Regions from separate parts of the Homo sapiens genome. Here region 2 is linked to region 1. Evidence: promoter capture Hi-C in human tissues and cell types (Jung and others, 2019). All regions are on one chromosome and are shown on one strand. Each heading gives the region's core, a stretch centred on a gene start or on the middle of the fragment in contact. The rest is flanking DNA. Distances are from core to core; before and after follow the strand shown. Region 1 holds the start of ST6GALNAC2 (ST6 N-acetylgalactosaminide alpha-2,6-sialyltransferase 2). Region 2 holds the start of C17orf99 (chromosome 17 open reading frame 99).

The links. Contacts are between HindIII fragments. The study calls those that stand out against the background at their distance.
Region 2: a contact is called between the fragment with the promoter of C17orf99 here and the fragment with the promoter of ST6GALNAC2 in region 1, in 1 of the 25 tissues and cell types used here (aorta).

Annotation. Positions count from the first base shown.
Region 1 is chr17:76,584,398-76,588,965 of GRCh38, forward strand. ST6GALNAC2 (ST6 N-acetylgalactosaminide alpha-2,6-sialyltransferase 2) reads right to left here and starts at 1,463. Exons shown (of 9, transcript NM_006456.3): 1 at 1,287-1,463. The coding sequence starts at 1,411. RefSeq lists silencers at 1,220-1,559, 1,610-1,899 and enhancers at 1,768-2,449, 2,450-3,130. The HindIII fragment of the contact is 21,800 bases long and covers 1-4,568 here.
Region 2 is chr17:78,144,603-78,148,960 of GRCh38, forward strand. C17orf99 (chromosome 17 open reading frame 99) reads left to right here and starts at 1,783. Exons shown (of 5, transcript NM_001163075.2): 1 at 1,783-1,842; 2 at 2,277-2,309. The coding sequence starts at 1,806. RefSeq lists enhancers at 2,806-3,025, 4,240-4,358. The HindIII fragment of the contact is 10,351 bases long and covers 1-4,358 here.

The DNA.
Region 1 (4,568 bases), core at 213-2,712:
GTTGCCCAGGCTTATATCAAACATGTATTATTTCTTTGCATTGAGATACTTTGTGTTTTAAACATCTTTACATAAAAGTGACAAGGATTCCTTTTCTTTTGAGACAGGGTCTCTCTCTGTCAACCAGGCTGGAATGCAGTAGTGCAATCACAGCTCACAGCCTCGAATTCCTGGCCTCAAGCTATCCTCCCACCTCCGCCTCCCAGAGTGCTGGGACTACAGGCGTTAAGTCACCGTGGCGGGGCAAGCACCCTTTGTTCTAAGAGTGCTGGACTCCTGATCACTGGCAAGCTGTTTCACATTGTTCTGCAACTTTTGGTGTATCCTTTGACAGCATCTGTGGAGACCAGATACTTATTTTGTTTTCATCCCGTTAGCCCCCCAGCAAGGTTGGTAGGGGGTGCGCAGATGGAAAAGCTCCAGGAAGGGAAAGGCTGGGGCTGGAGGCCTCTCCCTGAGGCTGCCGGGCCCTTCCCTCCTCCCAAACCCAGACTTCGCACGGCTTGGTCCGCCTTTCTTAAGCTAAGCGAAATCGTTTTGCGGCTTCTTCAGTCACCGGAACCACCACCTGCTAGAGGCCGGCTCCCAGGTTCTCCTCGTGGGACACCCAGGAAAGTGCCTAGGGAGGAGGAGGGAGTGGAGCGCAGGACGCGGCGCGGGGAGGAGAACGCGGATGGAGCCAGGAGTCACCCCTCTTTCCCTCGGGCGCCCGCCTCTTCGCGGATCGCGCCCGCACTGGGCTTATCCAGACACGGCGAGCGGAAGCCGGGGAGAAGGGAGCGGGCGCGGGGCGGACAGAGACCGCAGCGGGCGGGAAAGGCGACTGGCCGCGGCCCGACGGAGGGTCCCCGCGAAGTTGGAAACCGGAGACTTGGGCCCCTGCCCAAAAAGCAGAATCTGACGTTACCGAGGGAGAGTTCCCGACAAAAAAGGAAGTTTTTATCTGCTTCGGGGACCCAGCCAGATTTCGACAATAGAAAGTGTACTTATCAGGCCGGGGAGGACTTCACCAACAAGGGGCACCGGGGCGGGTCGCCAGTGCACAGGGGCGAGGTCTTCCTTGGACCCAGGCAAAGGCCGCGGGGTCCGGGCAGCGCGAGGTCAAGGCTGGGAGAGGGTTCTGGCGACAAAGGGCCGCGGCCGAGTCCTCGCTGAGAGCTGCCCCAGAGGGGTCCACGCGGAGGTTGGGCTGAGGGCTGCGGGCCGCCGGGGAGCCCTGGGCTGGGGACCCTCCCCGCGCCCTGGTCGCCCCTGCGCCCTCCCGCTCTGCGCTCGGCAGCCCCTACCTGGCTCCGGCCGCTGGCCCCGGGTACCGCTGCACCGCCGAGAAGTACAGGGCAAAGAGGAGCCCCGAGCAGGCAGCCGTGAGCAGGAGCAGCAGCCAGAAGAACGACCCGCGCGGGAGCCCCATACAGCCCCGGCCCGCGAGCGCCCCGTCCGCTGACGTCCCAGGCAGAAGGGAGAGAACCGGGTGGGCCGGGTGGCACTTGCGGAGGCGGCCGTCTTGCCCTGCCCCGCCCTGCCCGCCGGGTGCCTGCGGCGCCTGCCCGCCCGGCAGCTCCCTCTCGGCCCCGGCTGAGTGGCCAGAGGCTGCCGCACCCTCGGGAGCTGGGCGGCGGGTCCCCCGGGGCTGGAGTGTCGTCCCGGCGCCCAGAGCGCGCGCTCCTTTGGCCCTGCCCCCTGCCCGGGGGACTTCGGCAGCGGCCACTCCTGCCACTGCGCTCTCTCCAGAGCCCAGCCCCGGGAGGCCGCCAGTCTCGGGTTGGGCAGGGCGCTTTCCTCGCGCCGTCCGGGGCTAGCTAGGCGCGGGTAGACGCCGCCACCTGCTGCGCTGGCTGCGCTCTGCCCTCTGCGGGCCCGGCACTCGGCCTCTAGACTCTGTGGCGGGTGGGCGGCGGCCGGGAGGAGATGTGCCCGGCTCCCTCCAAAGGACCCTCAGATCTGTCAGTCTGCGGACGCCAGGACAGCTGGGAGGGGGCGGGCAGGGTGGAGGAGCAAAACCCGACAGCTCAGTCTCTGGGCTGGCGGTAGAGGGGGGAAAAGGGGGTGAGGTGGGGAGCTTGCCGTGATGGGTTTCGTGGGGGAGCTAAGGCTGTCAGCGCTTATTTGGTAACCATCCAGGGTGGCCAGTCCCCTCAATCGCATTGAGTTCCTTTCACAGAACGAGGCCAGTCAGAGAGACCACCTGAAATGTTCAGCACAACGGGTTCCCAAACTTATTGGCACCAGGGACTGGTTTCCTGGAAGACAATTTTTCCACGGAGGGGGGTGGGGGTGGGGGGGTTGGGGATGAAACTGTTCCACCTCAGATCATCAGGCATGAGTTAAGATGCTCTCATAAGGAGCCCGCAACCTAGATCCCTGGCATGCGCATTTCACAAAAGGGTTCGCACTCCTTTGAGACTCTAATGCCGAGGCTGATCTGAAGGAGGCGGAGCTCAGGCGGTAATGCTCCTTCCCCCTCCACTCACCTCCTGCTGCGATGCCCTGTTCCTAACAGGTCTCGGACCAGGCTTGGGATTGGGGACCCCTGGTCTAGCAGGCTCCAGCATCAGAAAGGGCTGGGAAGCTCAGCACCCGTGCTCTCTAAGTGGAACACTCCCTGGCAGTGAGTGATGGATGAGATGGGTGTGCTTCAGTGGCCACTGTTCGGCAAGCTGTGACATGCGGCAGGCTGTGACATGCCCCAGACTCCCAACTGTCAGCAGGCTGCAAGGATGAGAGGGACCTAGGCTACCGTGTCACGGGCCTTTGGCTCTAATCTGTTCTTCATGTATCCGAGGAAGTCTGGGTGCAGCAACAGGTACCTGTCTGATTGCAAGGCTTCCCGAAAACCTCCCAGGGCCTGGGCCTGTGGTCAGGAATGGCCATTCAGTCCATCCAGTCTCAGTACTCCTACCAAGTCAGGGTCACTGGAGGTCACTCACATTGGGCCAGTTCTTTCCTTCACCCCAAGACTGCTCAGCAGAGCCAGACTCATCTTGCTACCCCGCAGATGGGCACTACTTGGAATTTATGGTGTCACGACTTTCATTTCAATCTTTATGGGTTTACTTGTCAAAATTCCTGTAGATGTTACTTATCCCCTGATCACTGGCTTCTCACATTTCCTCAGACCTTCTCTCTGTGCCCATAAATATCCCTCCTAGCCCTTGCTCTCAGTAAGTGCCTTACCCTCTACTTCATGGAGAAAAGGAGAATCATTCATTAGTAATTTATTCAACTTCCACTTACAAACCTACAAACTTGGCCCCCACACACAGCCCAGCCTCTCCCTGCCGGGACTCTAGTCTTTTTTTTTTTTTTTTTTTTTGAAACAGCCTGTTACCCAGGCTGGAGTGCAGAGGCGTGATCTCGGCTCACTGCAACTTCCACCTCCCAGGTTCAAGCGATTCTCCTGCCTCAGCCTCCCCAGTAGCTGGGATTACAGGAGTGCACCCCCATGCCCAGCTTTTTTTTTTTGTATTTTTAGTAGGGATGGGGGCTTTACCACGTTGGCCAGGCTGGTCTCAAACTCCTGACCTCAGGTGATCTGCCCACCTTGGCCTCCCAAACTGCTGGGATTACATGTGCGAGCCACTGCGCCAGGCCTCAGGACTCCAGTCTTAAGAGCTGGGGAGAGGGTGCTCTCCTCCTGTGTGGGAGTTAACCCCCTATCTGTGTTAATAATCCAGGTCCACCTCCAATGCCTTAAATGGCAGTACTCCCCTCACACCAAGATCTCCTATCCACCCACCTGGAGTTCTCCTTCCTCCCATCTTCAGCCTCACAGGACCTCCAGGGTCTCCATCCTTCCCTTTTCTCCCAGTGGGCCAACCCTCTCTCAGCAGCTTTCTTTCCTATCTAGGCAGGACTCCCTGGGTTATAATCTGAGCTACTCCTGCATCAGTAACCCAGATTCTCTTGTGTTCCTGGCTTTCTTCCCAGCAAAACTCTGACCTGGATTCACTCTTGCCTCTGCCTCTCCTGTGCTGCCTGTCCCTGGCCTGGCTGAGTGCTGCAGGGGTCAGGGGTCAGGTGTAGCTCATTCCAGAGTGTGAATTGGGAACACAAGTTTGGCCTCAGCTGGCTCTCAACATCAGCCATTTCCTTATCCTTGCTCAGCTCCAGCTTCTATCCTGCTCAACAATGATTCTAGAACTTACTTCTTTCCTCAAGCCTCCTCTTTTCCCAGCCATACCTGTGAGAAAATGCAGCCCATCAGGAGTGACCTTCAACTTCCCATGCCCCCAAGTTCAAAGTCATCTTTTGTTAAGAACTGTGCAGATTTTGCTCTCCTTACAAGCTAACCAATGAAACTGCCATAGTTCTGTGGATGCTGGTAGAAGACACAAGACTACTGGATCAGAGACAAAGGACTTTATTACTCATGGTGCAGCAAGCAACATAGGCATCATGTTTGTGTCACTTCTCTTTACTCCTCAAGCCCCATGAGAGTGATACAGAGAGGCCCAGGTGAGTGTTGCACACACAATGGGTTTGCAGCACAGCTGAGAATCCCTGAGATAAGGAAACCAGAATCTTTTATAATGGGCTGCAAGCAAACCTGCTCTTGTCCAAGAGGGAGA
Region 2 (4,358 bases), core at 533-3,032, 1.6 Mb after region 1:
GAAAATGCTCTTGCTCCCCAGCTGGGAGAAACCGAAAACAGAGAGGCCGGTGGGTGCACAGGAGGCAGCCTCCATCCCCGGGACCATGGGTAGCAAGGTGCAGAAACGGACTCATGCCAGCTGGGAGAGGGGGCCACCGAGGGGTCAACAGAGCCAGTCTGCAGTGACCTCCAGGACACCTGCACCTGCCTCCCCACCATCCTTCTGGCCACTCCCTGGTCAGCAGGGCCACTCCCTCAGACCAGCTTCCCAACACACCCAGGCCTCCGGTGCAGCAAGTGCCTGGGAAAGGCTGAGAGGAGAGCTGGGCCGGGGCTGTGAGTGGCCTCCCTTGGTCAGGTGTTCACTCCTGGACGGTGCCCAGGGGCAGAGAGTGTGATTGACCGGTCAGGAGCCACAGGTGGCAGCAGCTCCCACAGGAGGCAATGGTCACCTGGTGGCAGGGGACATATTCCTGAAGGAGGCAGCCAGAAAAGGCATTCCCCACACAAAGTGTGGGAAACTGAGCCGGGCCAGAAAGTGACAGGCTGGTCCAGCAGCCCCAGGCTGAGCTTGGGCACAAAGCCGGGTGCAGTGGCCCACAGCGGAGCTGGCAGGGCCCCAGCCTCAATCCCTTGCGCCCTTACATCTCTCTGTGTTCCGGGGAATGCCTGGCCCCAGCCCTGGCCTCGGGGCTCTGGGAGGCCCTGCTCACCCCCACCCTCCCTGCATGTGCAGGAGGCTCTGTGGCTGAACTCTGCACACACACTGCCTGCGATGCAGCTGGGTCTGCTGCTGGCCAAGGCCAGCACTGGGGCCAGTTCCCTGGGGAATGACCATCCATGTGACCTCCCACCACCCTCAGTGGGGCCTGAGGGACTTCTGAAGGGCGGTGCTTGGGCACACCACGCTCCGGGACCCAGGACTCCAGGACCCATCACACTCCAGGACCAGGGGCCTCGTCGGTCTGGGGTTTCATTCTGGGGCTGGGTGCAGCCTTGGCCTCCCGGCTGTGAACCATCATGGGTGGGGCTGCCTTTTCTCAGCCCAGCAGGTCCCCAGCTGCTTGGAAAGGCCCCAGTGATTACATGAGGGTCACCTGGGTCATGTAGGACGGGCTCCTCCTCTCAAAATGAGAAGACTCACAGCCTTCATTCCCCTTGCCGCGTAGCATGGTGCTCACGGGCTCCAGAAGTTACAGCGTGGACATCTTTTTTTTTTTTTTTTTTTTTGAGATGGAATCTCACTCTGTTGCCCAGGCTGGAGTGCAGTAGCGTGATCTTGGCTCACTGCAACCTCCGCCTCCTGGGTTCAAGCAATTCTCCTGCCTCAGTCTCCCGAGTAGCTGGGATTACAGGCGCACGCCACCACGCCCGGCTGATTTTTAGTAGAGATGGAGTTTCGCCATGTTGGCCAGGCTGGTCTCGAACTCCTGACCTCAGGTGATCCGCCCATCCAGGCCTCCCAAAGTGCTGGGATTACAGGTGTGAGCCACTGTGCCCCGCGGAGCATGGACACCTTCTGCCCACCACGTGAGCCCGGGATCCTGCGGCTCAGAGGTGACTGCTGAGTCTAAGCCCTGGTCTGGCTTCAAGGTCCAAACTCCTTCCACTTCTCTGGGGATTGAGGGGGAGTTTGCTGTACCGGGCCTGCCGGGGCTCTCTGGGCCCCGCCCTGGTAGCTGAGGCCCTGGGGTGCTGCGGCCTCCAGGTTATCTCCCCACTGCAGGCACCCACCCAGGGAGCATCCCAGGGGCCTCAGGGTGGGGGAGGCCAGGAACTAGGAGGTTCTCACTGCCCGAGCAGAGGCCCTACACCCACCGAGGCATGGGGCTCCCTGGGCTGTTCTGCTTGGCCGTGCTGGGTGAGTCCACCAGGGACGTGATGGTGGGGCTGCTGCTGGGGCCTTGAGGTCTTGGGCTCAGGTGGGGGTACTGGGAGCACAGGAGAGATGAGGCCTGAAGGAAGGGCACCTCTGGAAACATGGACAGAGAGGGAAAGATCTGGGCTTGAGTCTCGGACCAGCCCCTAAACTTGCTGTATATGTGGTCCAGGGATTTCTGCACCATTCTGGGCTCACTACTTACCCATCTGCGAAATGGGCGGATGAGAGGCGATGTTGTGGGGGGAGGGGCGCAAAAGAGCTTTTGTGAGTGATGGTGCCAGCTGAGTCCTGGGGCCTCACTACCAAGAATCAGCCTGCTCCTCCCTCCTGGCTTCAGCAGGTGGGTCTCGAGGCTGTCTCTGGTCTCCCCTCCACACCAGGCCCTCTCCTTATCGCCCTTACCTCTCTTACAGCTGCCAGCAGCTTCTCCAAGGCACGGGAGGAAGGTAAGTGGCATAGCCTGCTGCAGGGAGAAGTCCCCCAGCTGGGACCCTGGTGTCAGAACCCCCATGGTGGAGGGCGCCTCGGCTGGGAAGGGAGTTACTAGTGGGGAGGTGTGTGCTGGAGGATGGCTGGACAGTTCTGGAACACTCTCTTCACCCTGCAGGGCCCTAGGAGTGATGGAGATGGGCAGGCCAAGCAGGCCAGTGTGGGGACCTCCGGGGCACACAGGCAGGGAAGTTGCTCAGCTTCCAGCCTTTGGCTGGGCTGTTTGGAGGGAAGATTCCCTGGGCAGGTGCATCCTCATCACTCTGCCCCAGGTCCCTGATCGGGAGCAGAAGCCCCCCCTGAGACCCTCACAGCTCTGCCCGGTGGGCGAGGCCCCGTGGAGGGCTGGGGAATTCTGGTGGGGCCTGGGAGGTTGGGATTCTCTGACCAGGAGGAGGGCCGTGAGAGGATGGTGAAGTTAAGGCTCCCCCAGGGGCCTGACATACACGAGGCTGCCTTCCTTATAGAGGCAGGTGGGGAGTGGAGAGTGTCTGGGACCCAGCTGGGTACAGGACCAGGGAGGAGGGGACGCTGGGGAAGGTCCCTGACAGCCCCTAGCCTGGCCTGCTTCCTCATCTTTGCCTGCTCCATCTTTCTGCCTGCACTTTCTTGCCCCATCCTTCCCTCCCCTCCCCTCATGTCCATTAAGGTGAGGATGGACAGTCACCTCCCTATATTGTCCCAACTAACCCTTGCCCCTTGTTGCTAGGCCATCAGGTTACAGAGCAGGGCCTTCCCCCTCTATTTTGCTAAAGGGCAGGTACAGGGTAATGATGACGCCATTCTCACTTGAATGAGGCCCAGGTTGAACCATTATTTCCTCATTTGCTTTAAAAACGGATACATTGTTGGTGTGGCTGCTAAAAAGAGAGCAGGCAGCTGGGGCTCCGGGAAGTACCTGTGCAGGGCAGTTCCGCCTCCCCCTCTTGGCTGGCTCCCGACTTCTCTGATTCTTGCCAACCAAGTCCTGCTAACTAAACTCCTAAGAGACTGACTGATAAATCATTTATTCATTCAACAAATACTTGAGCACCTGTTTGGTTGCAGGCACAATTCCAGGCCCTGAGAATGTGGCAAGGCACTGAAACAAACCCCTCCTGTATCTTACATTCTAGTGGGGGTTGGGGGGACAGATGATAATAAAAATAAGAACATTCAGTGGCTTATGCCTGTTATCCCGCACTTTGGGAGGCTGTAGCCAAAGGATCAGTTGAGCCCAGGAGTTCAAGACCAGCCTGACCGACACAGTGAGACCCCCATCTCTTAAAAAAAAAAAAAGAAAATGGCTCGATCTCAGCTTACTGCAACCTCTGCCTCCTGGGGTCAAGGGATTCTTCCACCCAGCCTCCTGAGTAGCTGAGATTACAGATATGCACCACCATGCCCAGCTGATTTTTTTGTATAAAGAAAATATTTTTTTAAATTAGCTGGGCATGGTGGGCGGTGCACCTGTTGTCCCAGCTACTCGGGAGGCTGAGGTGGGAGGATTGCTTGTCCGGGAAGTGAGGCTGCAGTGAACCGTAATCATTAACAGTGCACTTCAGCCTGGGTGGCAGAGCAAAAAAAGCACATTCTAAGGTATGTTAGTTAGAATGTTCTAGAGAAAAGCAAGCAGGGTAGAAGGAAAGGGAACACCAGGTAGGTAGGGGAAGGAGGGCAGCATTTGCAGGGGAGGGTGGAGTTTGGGAAGGGGCCGTGCAGCAAGGACCCGAAGGAGCCGACCGAGCAGGAAGTACCTGGGCAGGGACCCTGTGTGGCCAGAACACAGGAAGCAAGGGGCAAAGGGTATTGAATGAGGTCAGAGGCATGGTGTGGGGTTGGCCGGGGAGGGCCCTGTGGGGCGCAGCCATAGGAGGTTTGGAGGGGAAAACGCAATCTGATTTACCCTTGGCCGAGGTCATTTGGACACTGTGTGGATGGAGATCAAAGGCAAAATCCAAGAGAGCCATTAGGCTACTCGGGATCCAGAGGAGAGACTGGGCAATGCGGGAGAGGCAGGGAGATGG